2 separate regions of the Homo sapiens genome follow, and region 2 is linked to region 1. Evidence: promoter capture Hi-C in 16 types of primary human blood cells and fetal thymus (Javierre and others, 2016). All regions are on one chromosome and are shown on one strand. The core of a region is centred on a gene start or on the middle of the fragment in contact, and the rest is flanking DNA. Distances in the headings are between cores, read along the strand shown.

What was found. Contacts are between HindIII fragments. The CHiCAGO score rates a contact against its expected background, and 5 or more counts as called.
Region 2: a contact is called between a fragment that was not itself captured here and the fragment with the promoter of AGBL2 in region 1, in 1 of 17 cell types (M2 macrophages). The highest score is 5.2, in M2 macrophages.

Annotation. Positions count from the first base shown.
Region 1 is chr11:47,712,141-47,718,641 of GRCh38, forward strand. AGBL2 (AGBL carboxypeptidase 2) reads right to left here and starts at 3,229. Exons shown (of 19, transcript NM_024783.4): 1 at 3,035-3,229; 2 at 2,478-2,610; 3 at 2,144-2,207. The coding sequence starts at 2,510. FNBP4 (formin binding protein 4) reads right to left here. Exons shown (of 17, transcript NM_015308.5): 17 at 4,354-5,372. The coding sequence ends at 5,282. RefSeq lists an enhancer at 2,907-2,966. The HindIII fragment of the contact is 6,151 bases long and covers 1-4,392 here.
Region 2 is chr11:47,479,620-47,486,120 of GRCh38, forward strand. CELF1 (CUGBP Elav-like family member 1) reads right to left here. Exons shown (of 15, transcript NM_001376376.1): 7 at 4,770-4,904; 8 at 3,834-3,913; 9 at 3,076-3,237. Among named protein-coding and RNA genes, the nearest start is that of RAPSN, 34 kb to the left of the region's middle. The HindIII fragment of the contact is 9,324 bases long and covers 1-6,501 here.

The sequences.
Region 1 (6,501 bases), core at 1,979-4,478:
ATAAGTACTTAGTTATGGTGGAAAAGGCATTAAATTTGTGGGTGGAAGATAGAAGTCTGTTCTGAATGACAGTGATTTGGATTTAGTACTATCAGTGGTTTCAGGCCATCCAGGGGCCTTGGAACCTCCCCCCTGTAGATAAGGGGGGACTAATGTAGTTAATAAAAAAGTTTAACAACATTCTTTGATAGAAATAAAATTAATACTAATACAATGAATATTACTCCATCTTATTTCAATATACCAGTAACAAAGTTAGGAAATTAAATTTTAAGAAGATCAATATTTATAATAGCATAAAAATATGAAGTATTATGAAAAACTATAAATCTTTATTGGGAGACATTAAAGACCTAAGTAAATGGAGATAAATATTATAGTCATAGATTGGAGAACCCAGTGTTGAAAAATTGCCAGTTCTTGTGAAATTTGATCTACAGATTTAATGCAATTCCTATAATCTTTTAAAATGTCATAAGCGGGCTGGGGACAGTGGCTCACGCCTGTAATCCCAGCACTTTGGGAGGCCAAGGTGGGTGGATCACCTTAGGTCAGGAGTTCGAGAACAGCCTGGCCAACATGAGGAAACCCTGTGTCTACTAAAAATACCAAAATTAGGCCGAGCGTGGTGGCTCATGCCTGTAATCTTGGCATTTTGGGAGGCTGAGGTGGGTGGATCACCTGAGGTCAGTTCGAGACCAGCCTGGCCAACATGGTGAAACCGTTTCTACTAAAAATACAAAATTAGCCAGGCATGGTGGTACACGCCTGTAATCCCAGCTACCTGGGTACTTGGGAGGCTGAGGCAGGAAAATCGCTTGACCCCGCGAGGTGGAAGTTGCAGCAAGCCTAGATTGCACCACTGCACTCCAGCCTGGGCAACAAGAGCATAACTCCGTCTCAAGAATAAAAAAAACACTGGGCGCGGTAAGCTCACGTCTGTAATCCCACCACTTTGGGAGGCCTAGGCAGGTGGATCACCTGAGGTCAGGAGTTCAAGACCAGCCTGGCCAACATGTTGAAACCCCGTCTCTACTACAAATACACAAAAAAATTAGCTGGGAGTGGTGGTGGGCGCCTGTAATCCCAGCTACTTGGGAGGCTGAGGCAGGAGAATCTCTTGAACCCAGGAGGTGGAGGTCGCAGTGAGCCGAGATTGCGCCATTGCATTTCAGCCTGGGTGAAAAGAGTGAGACTCTATCGCAAAAAAAAAAAAAAAAAGAAAGAAACAAAAATTACCCAGGCGTGGTGGCTCGTGCCTGTAATCCCAGCTACTCAGGAGGCTGAGGCAGGAGAATCTCTTGAACCTGGGAGGCAGAGGTTGCAGTGAGCCGAGATCGTGCCACTGCACTCCAGCCTGGGCGACAGGGTGAGACTTCATCTCAAAATAAATAAAAAATAAAATAAAATGTCATAAGCCAATTGCAAAATTTATTTTTTTAAATTTTTATTTATTTATTTTTTTTGAGACAGAGTCTCACTCTGTCGCCCAGGCTGGAGTGCAGTGGCTTGATCTCGGCTCACTGCAAGCTCCGCCTCCCAGGTTCACGCCATTCTCCTGCCTCAGCCTTCCCAGTAGCTGGGACTACAGGCACCCACCACCACGCCCGGCTAATTTTTTTGTATTTTTAGTAGAGACGGGGTTTCACCGTGTTAGCCAGGATGGTCTCGATCTCCTGACCTCGTGCTCCACCCGTCTCGGCCTCCCAAAGTGCTGTGATTACAGGTGTGAGCCACCGTGCCCGGCCGCCAATTGTAAAATTTATATAGTAAGGCAAAGACTCAAGAACAGCCGTGACACTTCTGAAGAACAAGGTGGGAAGACATGTCTTTCCAGATAAAGACTATTTTAATGCCATATAGTAATTAAGAGACAGTGATACTGGTAAAGGATAGCCAAACAGACCAATGGAATAGAGAGCCCAGAAACAGACCTTTGTATTAAGTGATGCTGTCTACTTGACAGAGGTGACCCGCAGATCAATGGGGAAAGGAAGTACTTTTCACTAATGGTAGAGGAAAAAGTATTTATTTGTCAATGCAAATTATTTATTAGTCTACCCAAGTGCAACCCTCCCAGCTAACGAAGCAATTTTCCTCTTGAGTCCAGGAAAGGTGATACTAGATAAGAACATGGTATTACCTTTAAAGTAGCCATAATATTGGAGGTGACGGTACATAAAGTCTTCATAAGGATCAGGAATAGTCTGTGAAAGGAAAGGCCACTTCAATCAAGATAATGTTTTCAAACCATAATAGACTCAACAAAAAGTACATGAGCGTTGTTGCATAGGACTAGACTAAACCAAGCGAGCTGCATTCCATGCGAATTATTCTATCGTGGGGATCAAGATCTCCAGCTGAGAAAAGATGCCACCAGAACATCCCTTCTCATCTAGTAGCAGATTTCTGTGGAGTTCCCGAAGAAATGGAGTTCCCCGAAGAAATTTCTGTGGCTTTCCGTGTTGTGTACCGACCTGCTTTAGGTGCGTTTCCAAAGCTGGGAACATGTTACTTCTGGATGGTAGGCTGAAAACTAGTCAGTGACATTAGCATCCAGTCGCAAACCCTGCCCAATTTCCAAATAGGCAGCTGATTACACAAGAGAAGCTACAAAGCCACAAGAGGACAAGTGAAAAAACTGCCAATACCTCCCCGGGCGCCCCCCAGCTCCCTCTTGACTTCAGAAAACCCTGCCAACCCAGCTTCTCCTCAGCTAAACAAGGTGGTCACGCCGAGGCCAGAGGTGCATCTGAGACAGGGAGGGCAGCGTATCTTCCCGCTTCTTCTTCCCAAGGTGCTGGCCCCATGCTTCCCTTTCCCTGAGAAAGGAGATGCTCGCCACAGGAAAGTGAAAGAAATGGGTATGGGAGCACGCGACGAAGTCGTCTCGGTAGGTGCCGATGGAAAAAGGTCAGGGGGTTGGGAAAGTGGGCCCTAAAGATTGAATTTAGGGTTCAGAGGAACCTGGTCTGGGGCAGGTGGTGAGGGGGTTTCCTAAGGGTAGGAGCGGGGAAGGAGAGCAGAAACTTCCCAGGAGGGCAGAGCGATGGATGCGACCGCCTTCGCGCCCCGGCCCGTCCCAAGCAGCACGGATGGCTGCGGCAGAGAAGCTCCAGCGAGGCAGGCGGCCACCGCACTTAAGTACAGAGGCCAAGCAGTGTGCGGGCAAGGGGACAAACTCGCTGCACCCGCCCGCCACCGCCTTCTGTGAGGGCCCGGGTAGTCTAGCAACCGAAAGCAGGAAGCGGAGAAAGGGCGGGGCGGTCGGGCGCTTCCGGGGAGCTAGGCCTCGCCCCCAAGGAGGGAGCGGGGACCCCGGGAAGGTCTGCAACATGTATGGCGGGCAGCGGCTTTCTTCCCCTCATACATCACAGCCCCAGCCTCGGAATCGAAACCGCATTGATGAGTACGATGCCAGTAGCCTTCAACATACTTCCAAGCTGGTTTGCTGTTGGCTTTAGATAACTGTTATGCATAATTTGCTCTAAGAGAGCTGCTGCTTCTCTCCTTTCACCTTAACATTCTCTCCACTGCACAGCTAGAAAGGAAAAATTACCTTCTACACTGCAAATCTTAAGAAACAGAGCTAACAAATTCAAATCACACATTTTGATTAGGTTTAAAAAAATCAATTATATGCATAGAAATTTACTCCAGGCCAGGCGCGGTGGCTCTCGCCTGTAATCCCAGAACTTTGGGAGGTCGAGAGTTGGAGACTAGCCTGACCAACATGGAAAAACCCCATCTCTACTAAAAATACAAAATTAGCTGGGTGTGGTGGCGCATGCCTGTAATCCCAGCTACTCGGGAGGCTGAGGCAGGAGAATCACTTGAACCTGGGAGGCGGAGGTTGCGGTGAGCCGAGATCGTGCCATTGCACTCCAGCCTGAGCAACAAGAGCGAAATTCTGTCTCCAGAAAAAAAAAAAACAAAAAACCAACAACAAAAAAATAAATATACTACAATAAAATTCAAACACGTGTCTTTGGTTAACTATATATGAATATAACCGTATCTGTTACTTTTATCAGTGGGGGGAAAAAAGCTATAAAGCACCTTTTTTTCTGAAATGTTAACCATATTACATCATTGCCAGGAATTAAGTAGGTAAAATATTATCTAATATGGCTATTAACCAATCTAGATATTATAGATAATATTAGACCCCAAAACTTTGATCACACAGCACCATCTGGGACTAGAAGCCTGTTTGTCTAAACTGGCCCCACCACTCCCCATTAAAGATCTCCTGCTCATTTTCTTGAAAGCTGTTGTTAAATGTTTGCACCTTGCATTGTATATGCTTAGAAAAAAAAACAAGTCCTGGTTACATAATCAGAATAACAGGAGTTGACGAGCAAAAGGATAACCCATCAGGATTATAAAAAAAGCTTTATTAGTGCATATATACAAATTTACAAGGTCAGAAACTGGAGAAATACAAAGAGCTTTAAAACACAATTTGCCGTTTCCTCAGTTTAAAGTGACTTTTACCTGATTGTGATACAACAGAAAGTACAGAACAGTAAACTGCTTTTTAAATACTGGAATTTTATGGAGAATACATTCACATAAAGAAAGGAGGTGAATTTTGTTTTGGAACAGGGTTAAGACAATGGAGACATTAATACATAGAGTGTCTTGTTGTATTTACTGCCACATACTTGAGGGGAAATTCTCAAAATCAAGGATATGAACACCTGCTGCTGCCTGTATGCCACCTAGTGTGCGAAACGACCGAGCTACCAGTTCTAGAACTTATGAGAACTACTCTAAAGAGTGTGGCCATCTATCAGCACGAGGTAAACCACTTAGACCTCAGCACTTCAGGGGTGGCCGACTAGAGAAAAGAGGCCAGAAAAAGCTTCAGACAATTCCAGTCAAGCAAGGTAGAATGCAGAGCTGCCTTCTGAATTGCACTTGTTCTGGAGGAGAAGTTAATTCTTCACTTTTGTCAGGGAGTCCTCTACAGAAGTGTTATACTCATGAGCCACATGTTCTTCAAGACTGATGAGGTTAATACACCTAACATGCTAAGTTTGCCAGTTTGAGAATAAAGGCAGCATGGTCAAAGCAATTCCAATCACCTCATCCCTTTGCAAAAACAGAAAAATTACATTTCACAAAAGTGAAAACTTTGTATGCATACACTCTTGCCCAGGAAATTTATAAGATCTCCCCCATAACATTTATAGTTTATTTGACAATAAAACTGGTTAAGACTTTGAACTGAACACAAAACAAACAATAATACAAAAAAGTTTTAAAAACTTAAAAACTATGTGTTTGGAGCCATTTTCCTTCTCTTCAGCCTTGCTCTCCAATCCTCAGGAAGGGCTTCAAAATTAGCATTTCTCTCTGCCATGCCACTGTGAAAACAACATACAGATTATTTTAGTGGAAAGAAAAATTAACAAAAGTATTCATTTCCCAGCAAATAAAAATCTAACTGAAATTAAAAACCTGATCTATCACGTCTATGTTTATGAAAATCTTTTGTTTCTCAGCCAAACATCAGTATATTCTTCATCAAACTTCTTCATTCTGATAGGTCAACCAAACACTACCCCAGTTTTACGTATATGTCTAAGTGCATATTTATTTATTTATTATTGACTGATTGAGACGGAATTTTGCTCTTGTTGCCCAGTCTGGAGTGCAATGGTGCGATCTCGGCTCACCGCAACCTCCGCCTCCCAGGTTCAAGCGATTCTCCTGCCTCAGCCTCCCCTCAGAGTAGCTGGGATTACAGGCATGTGCAACCATGCCTGGCTAATTTTTTTTTTTTTTAAGTAGCGACAGGGTTTCTCCATGTTGGTCAGGCTGGTCTCGAACTCCCAACCTCAGGTGATCTGACTGCCTTGGCCTCCCAAAGTGCTGGGATTACAGGTGTGAGCCACCGTGCCCGGCCTTATTTATTTTATATAAATATACCTCCAATAACCATTAAAGGCACACTGAAGAAATGAAACACGTTCTATTAGAGTTTTTCTTAGCCCACAGGAGTTATGATTCTTCAGGGCAGATATATCTAATCCTCAGTCTACCAACAGGGACCCTGGGATCTAATGTTTTTTTTTCTGTTTTTGAGATGGAGTCTTGCTCTGTTGCCCAGACTGGAGTGCAGTGGCACAATCTCGGCTCACTGCAACCTCTGCCTCCTAGGTCCAAGCGATTCTCCTGCCTCAGCCTCCCAAGTGGCTTGGACTACAGGCGCCTGCCACCATGTCCAGCTAATTTTTATATTTTTAGTAAAGACAGGTTTTCACTATGTTGGCCAGGCTGGTCTCGAACTCCTGACCTCGTGATCCACCCACCTCGGCTTCCCAAAGTGCTGGGATTACAGATGTGAGCCCCTGTGCCCGGCCGGATCTAATGTTTTTGAGTTTCTCTTTCAAGTAGTTTTATTTGTAAGGATTAAAATTCAAATTCTATCTTGCAATTAACAGAATGGATGCATTAGAACCTTTAATAAAAACTAAGCTAGAACCTATCAGA
Region 2 (6,501 bases), core at 2,267-4,766, 230 kb before region 1:
ATGGTCCCATGACAAATAAAGTAAGAGGGCCTGTCCCTGAGTTTGTGGCATTAGTTTACTTTGTATATTGGCAAACCACAACCTTCATCTAACCAGCTTGCTGAAAACTTTTGCTCCAACTAAACCCAATTAGTATTGTTTATGGAAAATTGGTATTCTTGTACAGGATCCTTTTATTCAACCTGTTTCCCATTCCTATAAACATCTGACCTGGTTTCTCTGTCGCCGCAAATCCTTCCAGGCTAGAGACCATGGATAAGTTTCAGGAGGTCTACAAACCTCCAGGAACAGAATGGGGGAAAAAATGCACCTATACACCCTTTCCCCCCGCTTCTCAAAGGATAAAAAGATAAAAACCAACTCCTCCAGGACAGTAGAGCCTGGCTAACTCAAGTCCACATAGTCCAGAAAGAACCTCATAATTAATGATGATGTACTATCACACAGTCCACTAGCACCCACGTCTACACTTTTTTTTTTTTTTTTTTGAGACGGAGTCTCGCTCTGTCGCCAGGCTGGAGTACAATGGTGATCTCAGCTCACTGCAACCTCCGCCTTCCAGGTTCAAGCGATTCTCCTGCCTCAGCCTCCCGAGTAGCTGGGACCACAGGTGTGTACCATCACACCCAGCTAATTTTTGTATTTTTAGTAGAGACGGGGTTTCACCATGTTGGTCAGGCTGGTCTCAAACTCCTAACCTCAGGTGATTTGCCTGCCTCGGCTTCCCAAAATGCTGGGATTACAGGCATAAGCCACCGCGCCTGGCCTTTTTCTTCTTAAACACCTTGGGCTATGTGTTCAGTCCTAACTGGTGGACGGTGAATACTGTACTTGGTCCCTTCATTTCCCTCCAAATGAGATTAGCTCTTAGGGCAGGAATCATGTCTAACCAAAACAAAGAGAACACAGCTCTCAACACATGCCATCATGTACTTGCTGGTAGTGGCAATGACAACAAAAAGGTTAACCTTCCCTAAAGGGGGGCTCCAAAAGTCTCTAAGAAAAGCAAATGCATAGCATGTAGACCATTTTCAAAGCATTATCATTTCTGCAGATGACTAAAACCTCCCTGAATTTTCTGAACATATAAGCAATGTTTCAGCACTAAGAAACAATTTTTTCTGTTGAAATATAACCGGACCCAGTGGTTCACGCCTGTAATCCCAGAACTTTGGGAGGGCAAGGTAGGCAAATCACTTGAGGTCGGGAGTTTGAGACCAGCCTGGCTCACATAAGCAAAACCCTGTCTCTACTAAAACTACAAAAATTAGCCAGGCGTGGTGGCACATGACTGTAATCCCAGCTGCTTGCAGTTGGAGGTTGCAGTGAGCAGAGATTGCGCCACTGTTTTCCAACCTGGGCAACAGAGCGAGGCTTCAAAACAAAACAAAACAAAACAACCCCAACTCTTTATATTTTTTTAAAAAAACTTCAGAGAAATACTAGCTAGGATAAACTGGGGTTTTTTTTTTTTTTCTTCTTCTTTTTTTTTTTTTTTTTTTTTTTTTGTGAGACAGAGTCTCGCTCTATTGCCCAGGCTGGAGTGCAATGGTGCGATCTTGGCTCACTGCAACCTCCGCTCAGTGCAACCTCCGCCTCCCAGGTTCAAGCCATTCTCCTGCCTCAGCTTCCCGAGCAGCTGGGATTACAGGCACCTGCCACCACACCCATGTAATTTTTTTGTATTTTTAGTATAGACAGGGTTTCACCATGCTGGCCAGGCTGGTCTCAAACTCCCAACCTCAGGCGATCCACTCACCTCAGCCTCCCAAAGTGTTGGGATTACAGGCGTGAGTCACAGCGCCCGGCCTAAACTGGGATTTCTTATAAGATATTAGAAATATGAAAACCACTGGAACTAAACCAAAATTCAGTACTGGGAGACAGAAATCAGTGCCTTTTGTCTGTTTCCATACAGAATAATACTTGAAATGATGAGGAATAAATGACTATACTAGCTATTTCTATGTGAATATTTTTGTATCATCCATACAAATCTAGTGGTTTCACCATTAATAGCCTAAGATGACCTTTTTCCTCTTTGACTCACAAATGGGTGGTTTTAACTGTCTTGTGCTGGCCCAATTCTTTTCCATTAATAATCCCCTGTAACATATACACTGCAGACCTAGTAAATCTAAATCACAAATTGGGGCGAGACCTTCTTTTGGACTAGACAACCTTCTTTTGGCTCACGACAACAGAGAGATCAAATTAAAGGAAGTCTATTTACAATGTAGTAAACTTGAATATACACCTGTAATGCTCATTTAAAAATGTTCATGTTAATCTCTTGATCTCCGCCAGGCGCAGTGGCTCACACCTGTAAACCCAGCACTTTGGGAGGCCAAGACAGGTGGATCACCTGAGGTCGTGAGTTCGAGACCAGCCTGGCCAACACAGTGAAAGCCCATCCCTACTAGAAATACAAAAATTAGCTGGGTGTGATGGTGTGTGTCTGTAGTCCCAGCTACTTGGGAAGTTGAGGCAGGAGAATCACTTGAACCCGAGGTGGAGGTTGCAGTAAGCCAAGATTGTGCCACTGCACTCTAGCCTGGGTGACAGAGTGAGTGAGACTCCGTCTCAAAAAATAAATAAATAAATAAATAAATAAAGCAAAAAAAGAAAAAAAATCTCTTGATCTCTCAAGTCCGCTGAAAGAAACATTTATCATACTCTTTAGGAAAGACTCAATAAGGATTTTAATGATGCCCTCTACATCTGGTAGAAAGAGATATGGAGAAAGACACTGGTAGTTAAGATTCCCTCAGGAATTTCTTTCTTGGAGGCAAGGACACAAGATGTTTCTAAATCTTTAAAACGGGAAACCAGGAATTCACTTTAGTTGCAGCAAAAGCCTCAAGATATAACCAGAGATGCATGTCCAGAGATACATATATATAGAGAGAGAAAGAGACTAACAGGACTAAAAGAAATAGTACTACCTGAATTTTTACATATAATTTCTATATGCCAAAAGTTGTAAATGCCACTGTGTTTGTTGGCTAGGGACAGCAGAAGAAGGAACAGCTGGGAGCTTGCACAGTCTGCAGAAAGCAAACCACAAAGACTCACTGCTAAATACTGGGGTCCAAGAGTATTTAGACCAGCAAGGTTTCCCCACACAGATGCTGCGCTGATTTGCTGCATCTGCTGCTGGAGCTGCTGGGCCATTCTCTTCTGTTCTTTGTCCTTCTGTGTATCAGCAAATTTTACCACCATGGGTGATGAGCAACCCTGTGAAAAGACCATAACGAAAGGGTCAAATTCCTCCATCTGAAAAGAAGAAAAAAAATCTTCCTTTTGGATGACATGCAGGTTACATTCTAATTTCATTCACTGCCAAATGATTCTCCTCATGATAGACACAAGAGAGAAGAGACTGTAATCCCAACACTTTGGGAGGCTGAGGCGGGTGGATCACTTGAGCCCAGGAATTTTAGACCAGCCTGGGCAACATGGCAAAACGGTCGCTATTAAAAAAAAATACAAAAATTAACTGGGCGTGCTGGTGTGCACCTGTAGTCCCAGCTACTTGAGTGGCAGAGGTAGGGGGGATCACTTGAGCCTGGGTGGTTGGGGCTGCAGTGAGCCATGATATTCCCACTGCACTCCAGCCCAGGTGACAAAGTAAGACCCCATCTCAAAAAAAGGGGTAGGGAGAGCATTTCCAATACGTTAATTTTAAAGAAATCAGTGGTTTTTAACTTTAAGATGTTGGCTGTTTAACCTTCTGGGCAATCAGATGCTGCACATGCTGCTGGACTTTAATGGCCAACTGTCCCAGCATTCCCAAGCTGAGGAATTTTCCCCATCACCTATCTGCTCCCTACCTCCATGGTCTGTGCTTGGTGCATTGCCTTGATAGCCGTCTGTGCCATGGCTCTTGTTGTAAAAGTCACAAATGCACAACCTGGTAAGAGAAGAGTCAGTAACTCATGCATTCATTTATTTCTCTGACAAACATTAACTGAGCACCTACTATGTGCTGACTATCATGCTAGCAATACAGACACAGTCCCTGTTTTCAGGGAATCATGTGCTGGTATGTTGCAACAGGGTGATATGTGCTATAATGAAAAAACAGAACCACTGACAGAAAAAAAAAATGCTTGACAGGAGAAAGGAGGACTCATATCCTCTAGTTCCTCTTGAAAATAAAAGAAAATGGAAGAAGAAAGTATTTCCATTTTGGCATCAAGGATCTTGCAAAGCACCAAAAGAGAAAATTTTAATACATGACAATGAAATATAGAATGTAGACTCCTTAGAGGGGCTGGGAGACAAAAAGAATGAACTGATAGGAGGAGTCAAGACAGGACATAGATATACAGCAGGAAGCAGCAGGCCCAACCTCTTTATCTTGACTGGGCCATATTGGCTAGGGAATCACTGTTGCTAGTTTCCACCGGTCAAATTAAAAAGATTCCAAGCCCGGTGCAGTGGCTCACACCTACAATCCTGGCACTTTGGGAGGCCAAGATGACAGGATCGTTTGAGTCCAGGAGTTCAAGACCAGCCTGGGCAACACAGGGAGACCTTTTCTCTATAAAAAATTTAAAAATTAGCTGGGTGTCATGATGCATGCCTGTGGTCCCAGCTACTCAGGAGGCTGATCCTGGGAGGTTCAGGCTGCAGTGAGTTGTGAAGGCACCACTGCACTCCAGCCTGGGTGAGAGAGAGCAAGACCTTGTCTCCAAAAAAAAAAAAACCCCAAACCAAACCAAAACAAAAAACCAAAAGATTATTTAAAAGCTAAAACTACCTACCTCGGCTCAGGCCATCAGGTCCCCGCAATATCCGGCATTCTTCAATCTGTCCAAACGAAGAGAACATGACTCGGATGTCATTTTCAGTGCACTTCTTGGAAATCATACCAATAAACAGCTTCCTGTCTTCCACTGCTAAGAGAGTAAAACAGAAAAGACTTGAATATTACTACTTAAAGAGGCAATGTGGCACAGATTTGGGAGCCAGACCGCCTGGGTTTGAATCCTGGCTCTGTACCATATTTTACAGATTCAAAGACACACATTTGTTTTTTGTATTTTTCACATCTCTTTTTTTCTTGTTTTTGAGATGGAGTTTCGCTCTTGTTGCCCAGGCTGGAGTGTAATGGCGCGATCTCGGCTCACCGCAAGCTCCGCCTCCCGGATTCAAGTGATTCTCCTGCCTCAGCCTCCTGAGTAGCTGGGATTACAGGCATGCGCCAAAATGCCTGGCTAATTTTGTATTTTTAGTAGAGATGGGGTTTCTCCATGTTGGTCAGGCTGTTCTTGAACTCTCGACCTCAGGTGATCCACCCGCCTCGGCCTCCCAAAGTGCTGGGATTACAGGTGTGACCCACCACGCCCGGCTTCACGTCTCTTTTTATAACCAATGTTATCTTAAAATTATAATTAGAAGCATTTAGATGAAATATGGTAGCTTTGTAATCTTGTGAAAGTTACTCAACCATTCTGTGCCTGTTTCCTCATCTAACTAATAGGAATAATCAGGTTTACTTCAAAGGGTAGCAGTTGCTATTAAATGTGAAGTACTTGGCATCTTCCCTAGTCCTTTGTATTGTTTCCTCTTTTTGAGACAAGAGTCTCGCTGTCACCCAGGCTGAAGTGCGGTGGCATGATCATGGCTCACTACAGCCTTGACCTGCCGGGTTTAAGCAATCTTCCCACCTCAGCTTCCCGAATAGCTGGGACCACAGGTATGTACCACCACACCCAGCTAATTTTTTGCAGAGAGGTTTCACTCTTATTGCCAAGGCTGGTCTCAAACTCCTGGGCTTACGCAATCCTCCGGCCTCAGCCTCTTAAAGTGCTGTGATTACAGGTGTGCGCCACTGTGCCCAGCCAGCATTGTTTGCTCTTACTGGCAATACTACTAAAGAAAGAAGAGGTTTTCACACTTGATATGACAAGTGGAAGAGAATACACCTTTCAGTGAATGTAACTGTCTACTTTTCTGAATTTTTTTTTTTTTTGAGACAGAGTCTTGCTCTGTCACCCAGGCTGGAGTGCAGTGGCACGATCTCAGCATACTGCAACCACCGTCTCCTGGGTCCAAGCGATTCTCCTGTCTCAGCCTCCTGAGTAGCTGGGATTACAGGCATGCACCACCACACTCAGCTAATTTTTGTATTTTTAGTAGAGACAGGGTTTCACCATGTTGGCCGGGTGATCCGCCCGCCGTGCGCTCCCAAAGTGCTGGGATTACAAGCATGAGCCACCTCACCTGGTCCTGACTATCTTCTTGAGAATTAAGGCCAGGCGTGGTGGCTCACGCCTGTAATCCCAGCACTTTGGGAGGCCGAGGCGGGCGGATCACAAGGTCAGGAGATCGAGACCATCCTGGCTAACACAGTGAAACCCCGTCTCTACTAAAAATACAAAAAATTAGCCGGGCGTGGTGGCAGGCACCTGTAGTCCCAGCTACTCGGGAGGCTGAGGCAGGAGAATGCAGTGAACCCGGGAGGCGGAGGTTGCAATGAGCTAAGATCATGCC